3 separate regions of the Homo sapiens genome follow, and all the other regions are linked to region 2. The links are contacts of gene promoters, found by promoter capture Hi-C in human tissues and cell types (Jung and others, 2019). All regions are on one chromosome and are shown on one strand. The core of a region is centred on a gene start or on the middle of the fragment in contact, and the rest is flanking DNA. Distances in the headings are between cores, read along the strand shown.

The links. The method cuts DNA at HindIII sites, captures the fragments that hold promoters and counts their contacts. A contact is called where the count stands out against the background at its distance.
Region 1: a contact is called between a fragment that was not itself captured here and the fragment with the promoter of LARP1B in region 2, in 1 of the 25 tissues and cell types used here (hippocampus).
Region 3: a fragment that was not itself captured here is called in contact with the fragment with the promoter of LARP1B in region 2 in 1 of the 25 tissues and cell types used here (H1 embryonic stem cells).

The regions. Positions count from the first base shown.
Region 1 is chr4:127,821,535-127,824,287 of GRCh38, reverse strand. HSPA4L (heat shock protein family A (Hsp70) member 4 like) reads right to left here. Exons shown (of 19, transcript NM_014278.4): 15 at 1,394-1,519; 16 at 664-771. Among named protein-coding and RNA genes, the nearest start is that of HSPA4L, 41 kb to the right of the region's middle. The HindIII fragment of the contact is 5,115 bases long and covers 1-2,753 here.
Region 2 is chr4:128,059,898-128,062,867 of GRCh38, reverse strand. It overlaps LARP1B (La ribonucleoprotein 1B), which reads right to left and starts at 1,556. Exons shown (of 20, transcript NM_018078.4): 1 at 1,467-1,556. RefSeq lists enhancers at 474-1,332, 1,333-2,191 and a silencer at 650-2,149. The HindIII fragment of the contact is 21,432 bases long and covers 1-2,970 here.
Region 3 is chr4:127,905,541-127,908,459 of GRCh38, reverse strand. No RefSeq gene overlaps it. Among named protein-coding and RNA genes, the nearest start is that of PLK4, 26 kb to the right of the region's middle. The HindIII fragment of the contact is 8,501 bases long and covers 1-2,919 here.

The sequences.
Region 1 (2,753 bases), core at 87-2,586, 240 kb after region 2:
TATTCACAATAGCCAAAATAGAGACTCAATCTAAGTGTCCATCAGTGAAATGATGGATAAAGAAAACGTGGTATGCATATACAACGGAATACTATTCAGCCTTAAAAAGAAGTAAATCCTGTCATTTGAGACAACTTAGATGAACCTGGAGGACATTATGCTAAGTGAAATAAGCCAGGCACAAAAAGACAAATACTGCATGATCTCAAAGGTTGAATCTAAAAAAGGTAAGCTCTTAGAATCAGATAGTAGAATTGGTGGTTATCAGGGGATGGTATGATGGAGAGCTACTGGTCAAAGGACACAACATTTGAATTAGACAAGAGGAGTAAGTCCAAGAGATCTATTGTACATCATGGTAACCACAGTTACCATATATACTTAACAATATACTGTATATTTGAAAATTGGTTGAGAGAGTAGATTTTAAGTGTTCTCCCCCCCAAAGAAAGAAATGTATGTGAGGTAATGCATTTGTTAAATAGTTTGACTTAGCCATTCCACAATGTGTGCATAATCAAAACATGTCGTACACCACAAATATATACAATTTTCCTCTCAATTAAAAAATTAAAAATTAATAGAACATAAACTGTGCTCTTACACCCTAATTTTTAGAAAAAGTTACTGGTTTATACTAACATGGACTTTAAAAAAATGTACCTTTAGTTCTTGAAGCTTATCCACATAAACTTGTTTAGGTTGGTCCTCTCCGTCTTCATAAAGCCAATTTTCTGTGTCTTCCAATACTGCAGACAGTTTACTCAAGTCCTAGTAATATATTTGAGAGACACTAATTAAAAATACTTTCCTTAGAAATAAAAGTCATCATTGGGCTCAGTGCAGTGCAGTGCCTCATGCCTGTAATCCCAACACTTTGAAAGGCCAAGGTGGGAGGATCGCTTGAGCCCAGAACTAAGAGACCAGCCTGGGCAATATGGCAAAATCATATTTCTACAACAAATTAAAAAATTAGCCAGGCATGATGGCATGTGCCTGTATTCCCATCTACTTATGAGGGTGAGGTGAGAGGACTGCTTGAGCCCGGGAAGTAGAAGTTGCAGTGAGCTGAAATCGTGCCACTGCACTCCAGCCTGGGCGACAGAGCTAGATGCTGTCTCAAATAAATAAATAAAAAAAAAATTAAAAATCATGGAAGGACAGAATGTTTTTCAAGTATAAAATATTAAATTTCAAAATTTTCTAACTTCTTATTCAAAAATATGTTTTTCACCATACTTCTGCAACTTGTAAAAATAAGAACCTTCCCCATATGGGCCCAAGATTGGCAACAATAACAACATTTGGTACATTTATTTATGTAATTTGTACTAGCATTCTCGAGTAAACCTTTAAATAGTCCTCACAAAAAATTAACAGAATTTAGACTTACTTCTGGAGTGATGAATTTTTCATAGACAGTGCCCAGCCTGTCTCTAAAATCATATACATATTCTTCAACGGCATTCTTAGCATCATTTCTTTCTTTCTCTAACTTATCTTGCATGATCATCTTCCCCTATTCAAAAAGCTTCAGATTAGTTGCCATAAGAATATGCATTAGGGAAATAGAAATCAAAACCACAAGATACCACTTCACACTCACTAGGATGATTACAATACAAAAAATAAGTATTCATGAGGATGTGGAGAAAGTGAAACCCTTGTACATTGCTGAGAGGAATGTAAAATGCTGCAGCCACCATGGAAAACGTTTTGGCTGTCCCTCAAAATGCTAAGCACAGAATTTCAATTTCACTCCTAGATACACCCACAAAAAATTGAAAGCAGAGACTTGAACAGATATTTGTATGTCAGTGTTCACTGCAGCATTATTCACAATAGCCAAAAAGTAGAAACAACCCAAATGTGCACTAAAAGATGAACAAATAAAAAAAGTATATAAACACAATGTAGTATTTTACTTCATTTTAAGAAGAAATGAAGTTATGATACGTGCTGAAACAAGGAATCTTGAAGTCATTATGCCAAGTAAAATAAGCCAGACACAAAAGGACAAGCATTGTATAATCCCACTTAACATGATTCTTATCTATTGATAACTAGGCAGTTCGCAAAGACAGAAAGTAGGGAACTGGGAGAAGGGAGGAAAATAAGTTATTATAGAGTTAACGTTTGGGGTGATGGAATTGTTTTGAAAATAGACAGTGGTGATGGATGCACAGTATGGTGAATGTAATTAAAGCCATTGAATTATACACTTAAAAATGGTTATAATAGCAAATTTCATGTAAAAAAATTAACGTAGTATACCGAAAACCACTGGATACTTTAAATGGGTTAATTATGATATGTAAATTTATCTCAATAAAGCTGTTAAAAAACAAAAGAAAACATAGCCTATGTCATTCTACATACTCAGATTAAAATCCTAGGTTCCCTATTTACTATCTTGAGATAGCAGGAAAATCATCTAAACATAAGTTTTCTTATCCTAAACAGAGAGCATAATTCCATCTAACTCATAGGGCTGCTAATAAGGTTGAGATAATTCATGTAAAATATTTAGTTCCATGTTTGACACATAACTGGTAATGAATAAAAGCCTTGCGGGGGTGGATATGGTATAGTGGTTGTGATACTGAGCTTTGGAGAACAATCACCTGGATCCAAATCCAAAGGGTATTCTCTGATCCTGGGTAATTTAGTCTACTTGTGTCTCAGTTTCCTCACCTGTGAAATGTAGTTCTCTAACAGAACCTACACTTCATAGGTTTGAGGGTAAAAATAAA
Region 2 (2,970 bases), core at 307-2,806:
ACATGTATACATGTGCAGCCATGTTGGTGTGCTGCACCCATCAACTCGTCATTTAACATTAGGTATATCTCCTAATGCTATCCCTCCCCCCTCCCCCCATAAAGCACTTTAAAAACCACATTTAAAGTCTCATTTTTAATATGACTGCTCAGCAGTGTTTTGAAAACCTTTTTTCATCTTATTTCACAAAAGACTACAATCGCGCTTCCACTTACGAATAAATCCCCTTGCTCTGACTTGCTTCAATCCTTTTATGTAAAAAAAAAAAAAAAAAAGTCTACCAAAACTTTCCCATACGAAGCACTGCAGTATCTAAAGTTAGCTACTTTCCCAAGTCACTAACACTGGGGACAAAACACAATCGCAACCGCGCCAGCAGGGATGCGCCGCCAAGCTACCACCTCCGTGCCCCCATCAGGCAAGGAGAACCTGAGGTCCCACCTCTTCCTGCCGCTCCCTTCCCAGATGCCCATGTCTGTAAATAGGCAGAGTGAATGACACCTTGGAACAAATTACCTCCGACTGACAGGGAGGGGAGGCCTGCCGTTACCCGGGCCTGGTGCCCGCTACCGCCGCCACGCGCCGGCAAGTCCCGCAAGTCGCCCCTGCCCGCACCCTGCCAGTGCCCAACGCAGAGCAACCACAGACCTGCCTCCAGGGTTTCCAGCGGGGGCGGTGGCGGACCTGTCGTGTCTGGGGACAGGTGCTGGGGAGGCTTTTTGGTCCAGGGATTTCCCTTAGGCGGCAGCAGCGGCGGCTGCCGCTTTTCCGCAGGGCCAGCTGCCACCTCTTCCCGGGCGTCCTCGGCCGGCGGATCCCGCAGCAACGGCGGCAACGGCGACGGCGGCGGCGGTGGCGGTGGCGGCTCCCCGCCGAAAGGGCCCCCGGGCCCACGCGCCTTGTGCGCCAGGTGCAGCGCCAGGGGCCTCACGGGGACAGCCGCCTGGGGCACGCTGCGTCCCAGCACCAGCGCCGGCGACGGCTCTCCCCGCGCCCCAGCGCTAGTGGCGGCCGCGGCCCTCTCCTCCCTCGCCGCCTCTTTGCCCTCACATTCGGGCGGGGGCGGCTGCTCGGCCGGCCGGTTCGCCGCGGCCAACAGCGACTCCCTCTCAGCAGTCACCGCGGGCGGATCCTCCCGAGAATGGGCGGCGGGCATCGGGGCGCGAGTAGACATCGTCCCTCTGCCCCAGCCGCCCCAGCCGGGGTGGCCCCGAGGCCAGGGAACCCGACTGCCCGTCTCTCCGCCGGGACACCGGCCGGCTCCAACTGGGGACAGACAACCCGAGAGCCCGGCGGCCGTGGCCGCCGCTGCCGCCGCCCGCCGAGGCCGCGCAGCGCCCGGCGTGACGCCCCTCCCCGCACCGAACGGAGCGCCAACCGCCCGCCGGCCCCGTCCTCTCCGCGACGCACGCCCCGAGCCCGCCACCACGCGCCGGGAGCCGCAGCCGGGAGCCGCGAGCCCTCACCTGGCGCAGGGCAGCCGCGGAGGCGCAGCACGCCGAGGCCGAGGAGCTTTACCCGAGTTGGGGAGGCGCGAGCAGCCAAAGCTGGTAACTGCCCGCGGAGGCGTGGAGACGGCGAAGAGGGGCGGCCCGAGAGCACGGGGCGGGGCCTCCCTGAGGAGCGTGACGTGGCTACTCACCGGGTCCTTCTCTCGCCGGGCCTCCCGCGGGAGCTGACGGATTCGCCCGCCCGGGTGCCGCCCGGCCCGAGGGTCTGCCCCGCCCCAGCTGCCCTCCGAGTGCGAGGGAGGACGAAGGGGACGACTCCCGGCTCACTGGCTGAGGCCGCCCCGACTGCAGGCTCAGGGGCGGAGCGCGCACCAGGCCTCTGTGGCTCGCGGCTGGCTCGCGGCCTGCCCCCGCGGCGACGGCGGCCAAGGGCCTGGGCGGGCCGCGCACATGGCGCTGGGAGGACCGAGCGCTCGATTTGCCCTTAGGCCCTAAAGCTGGGTCGCAGCTAGGCTAAGGGAGGGGACGCGGTGTCGACCCCCGGCCTGGGGCAGCTCCCAAGTGAAGTGGGCTCCGCGGCCCGGCCGCTTGGCCCGCTGGCGCCCGGCGCCTCCCCCAGGTGAAAGTTGCCTCCTGGCGCCTCGGGGCACCGCGATCACCTGTAATCTTGAGCCACGTCCCAGATGAAGGGGGAGTTACCTCTCGGTAACTGTTTAGGAAACCTTTGCCCCAGCGTTCGGCTTAGTGCGCTTCCCCGCCCGCATTCCCACCCACCAACTAAAAGAGTTCTAAAGCGTTCCTGAGTAAATTAAATAGTATTTCGCCGGCTTTTAAAATTTTTTGTTACCTGTTTCTTTAATTTGGGTAAATAGCACTTAATTACAAATTAACCATATTCCCAATAGGTTTTTTCTTCCTGGAATGGATGTTAAAATGGTACAAAGACGTTTTGATAATAAATCGGATACGAGCTTTCTACTTGGCACTCACATTCACTTAGAGATGATACTCGTTTCATTTTTGAGTCAGTGTTTGTGTCCTGGTGCAAGGTGGCTGAGAGCAGGTTCCGCCGCTGATTTTTTTCCGAGCCCCCCACCAACCCCATAGCCTTGTTAAATAAATTATCTGTGCTCGCCTTATGTTTGGGCTTTCAACCCCCACCCCCCACCCCACGCCCAATAAGTCGCTTCAATTACATTCAACTTGACGTTAATATTTTTTGCTTACTCAAAAGCCGTATTCGGCACAAATAATTTTCCTAAGGCTAATAACCTATTCATACATAACAGCTATAAACAATAAGGGTTTTCTTGTTTTCCGTGTCAGTGATCTCCAGTTTGCCCAACCCTAAGCAACCTGGCGAACCTTGTTGCAATTAAAAGGGGATTGTACTTCCACCTATATTCCCATCCATCTTTACTAGCTCTGTTATTAGTGGCGCTTTGTATTTTTTATTGGTGGTGGTGATGGTGGTGGTGGTGGTGGTTTGAGACAGAGTCTCACTCTATTGCCCAGGCTG
Region 3 (2,919 bases), core at 129-2,628, 150 kb after region 2:
AATGGAAGTGTAAAAAAATTAGGCGTTATCTACTAAAGTTTGACATACACAAATCGTAAGATTACTAAATTCATTGCAGTAAAATCCTAGAGAAACTTGTATGTAGCTGCACCAGAAGATGTTCATAAAGTATATATTTACAGCCAAAATCTGGAAACAACTCAAATGTCCATCAACAGTATAACATATAAACAAACTGCTGTACATTCCTACACTGGAAAACTACAAAGGAACCAGTCCAGGTAGAAAAAGGAAAGCAGAGAGATGTCTCCAAAAGAGGGGATAAATGGATCAACAAAAAAGCACAGACAGATTACCTGACATATCAGAGAAAACAAAAGAATTCCAGAAAAAAAATTGTTCAAGAAATATAATTCTAGCATAGTACATAGTTCAGCTGTGAGTATTTTCTTTTTTTCTTTTTCTTTCTTTTTTTTTTTTTGAGATGGAGTTTCGCTTTTGTTGCTCAGGCTGGAATGCTATGGTGCGATCTCGGCTCACCGCAACCTCTGCTTCCTGGAGTTTCTCCTGCCTCAGCCTCCAGAGTAGCTAGGATTACAGGCATGTGCCACCATGCCTGGCTAATTTTGTATTTTTAGTAGAGATGAGGTTTCTTCATGTTGGTCATGCTGATCTCGAACTCCCGACCTCAGGTGATCCGCCTCCCTTGGCCTCCCAAAGTGCTGGGATTACAGGTGTGAGCCACTGCGCCTGGCGGAGCTATGAATATTTTCATAGTCACAGTAATATAAACATTGAATATTAAACTACCACCATACCCCTCCCCCAGAGAAAACGAGTAGAGAGAAAAAAGGGGATTAAAGGAAACTCAGCTTGAAAGAAGTAACAGGAAAAAAAGAAAAGCAAAGCAAAAATATAGTACATGCTAGAAAGCACAAAATTAATTGCTAGACATAAATCCAAATAGAACTGTAATGACAATAAGACAGCCAGAAATAACAATATATGTAAAAATTAGAAGTTATTAAATTGTAATCAAAATAAAATTTAGCTATATGTTATGTATAAGAAAAATACTTAAAAAATAGACTCACTCATAAAGACGAAGAGATAATAAAAAGTATACTAGTTAACATCTGTCAAAGCAGAAATGTATGTTTTGAGTCATTGGCCTTTAAAATTTAGCTCAGGCCAGGTGCGGTGGCTCACGCCTGTAATCCCAGCACTCTCGGAGGCCGAGACAGGTGGATCACTTGAGGTCAGGAGTTCGGGACCAGCCTGGCCAACATGTTGAAACCCCATCTCTACTAAAAATACAAAAATTAGCTGGGCATGGTGGCACATGTCTACAATTCCAGCTATTTGGGAGGCTGAGGCAGATGAATCGCTTGAACCTGAGAGGCAGAGGTTGCAGTGAGCCGAGATCATGCCACTGCACTCCAGCCTGGGTGACAGAAGGCGACTCCGTCTAAAAAAAATAATAAAATAAAATAAAATTTAGCTCGGGATTACTTTATTTCCATTTTTATTTTATTTATTTTTGAGACAGAGTCTTGCTCTGTTGCCCAGGCTGGAGTGCAGTGGCATGATCTTGGCTCACTGCAACCTCTGTCTCCCAGGTTCAAGCAATTCTCCTGCCTCAGCCTCCCGAGTAGCTGGGATTACAGGCGTGTGCCACCATGCCCAGCTAATTTTTGTATTTTTAGTAGAGATGGGGTTTCACCATGTTTGCCAGGCTGGTCTTGAACTCCTGACCTCAAGTGATTCACCCGCCTTGGCCTCCCAAAGTGTTAGGATTACAGGCATGAGCCACTGTGCCTGGCATTTTATTTCAATTTTTAAAGGGAAATTGTTATTACTGATCATATTTTCTCTAAGGGCTTACATCCTTCCTTTCCCCAAAGTTGGATTATCAATGTGGTAATTCTTATAGATACTGCCATATTACTTTCACAGTTATCATTTACACCCTAATCAACACCTGAGAATGTCTTATACATATTGTGAGCATTATTATTTCAATTTTTTTTTTTTTTTTAAAGACAGAGCCTTGCTCTGTCACCCAGGCTGGAGTGCAGTGGCGCTATCTCAGTTCACTGCAACCTCCACCTCCCGGGTTCTAGAGATTCTCGTGCCTCAGTCTCCCAAGTGGCTGGGATTAGAGGCGTGCACCACCTAACCTCGCTAATTTTTGTATTTTTAGTAGAGACACTGCTTCACCATGTTGGCCAGGCTGGTATTGAACTCCTGACCTCAGGGGACCTGCCTGCCTTGGCCTCCCAAAGTGCTGGGATTACAGGCATGAGCCACTGCACTGGGCTATTACTTAATCTTAAACCCATTCTTTGATAAAGGAAAATTATTATCTTGCTTTAACTTTGCATTTCCCCAACTTTTATGAGGTTGAGCATATTTCCTTTTTATTGACCATATGGACTTCCTTCCTTTGTGAACTATCAATTCATATGTCTTGTCCATTTTTCTACTGTGTGACAACAGAAAATTTCCTTCAATCCCCTTTTTTCTGTTACTGGTTTTCTCTGGGAGAGGGGTATGGTGGTAGTTTAATATCAGTTCTGCAATTTATGTTGCAAATATAAGTATTATTTTTCTTCCTTATTGTCTGAGGCAAAAACCTCCAAAACAATGTTGAATAATCATAACATTGTCTACTTGTCTACTTAAAAGAAACAGCTCTAATATTTCTGATTATAAAAACCAGCAGGACACATTAGGTTAAACAGTCTTTATGATATTGAAGTTGTTTCATTCTATTCTTATTCCTTCATTAGGAATGGCTATCCCACTATCACATATTTTTTCATCATGTCAATTAATTGCATCAAGTTCTTCAGTGTTAAAATATTTCATTAAGGAATAAGAACAGCTCTGGTCTACAACTCCCAGCAAGATCGACGCAGAGGATGGGTGATTTCTGCATTTCCAACTGAGGTACCT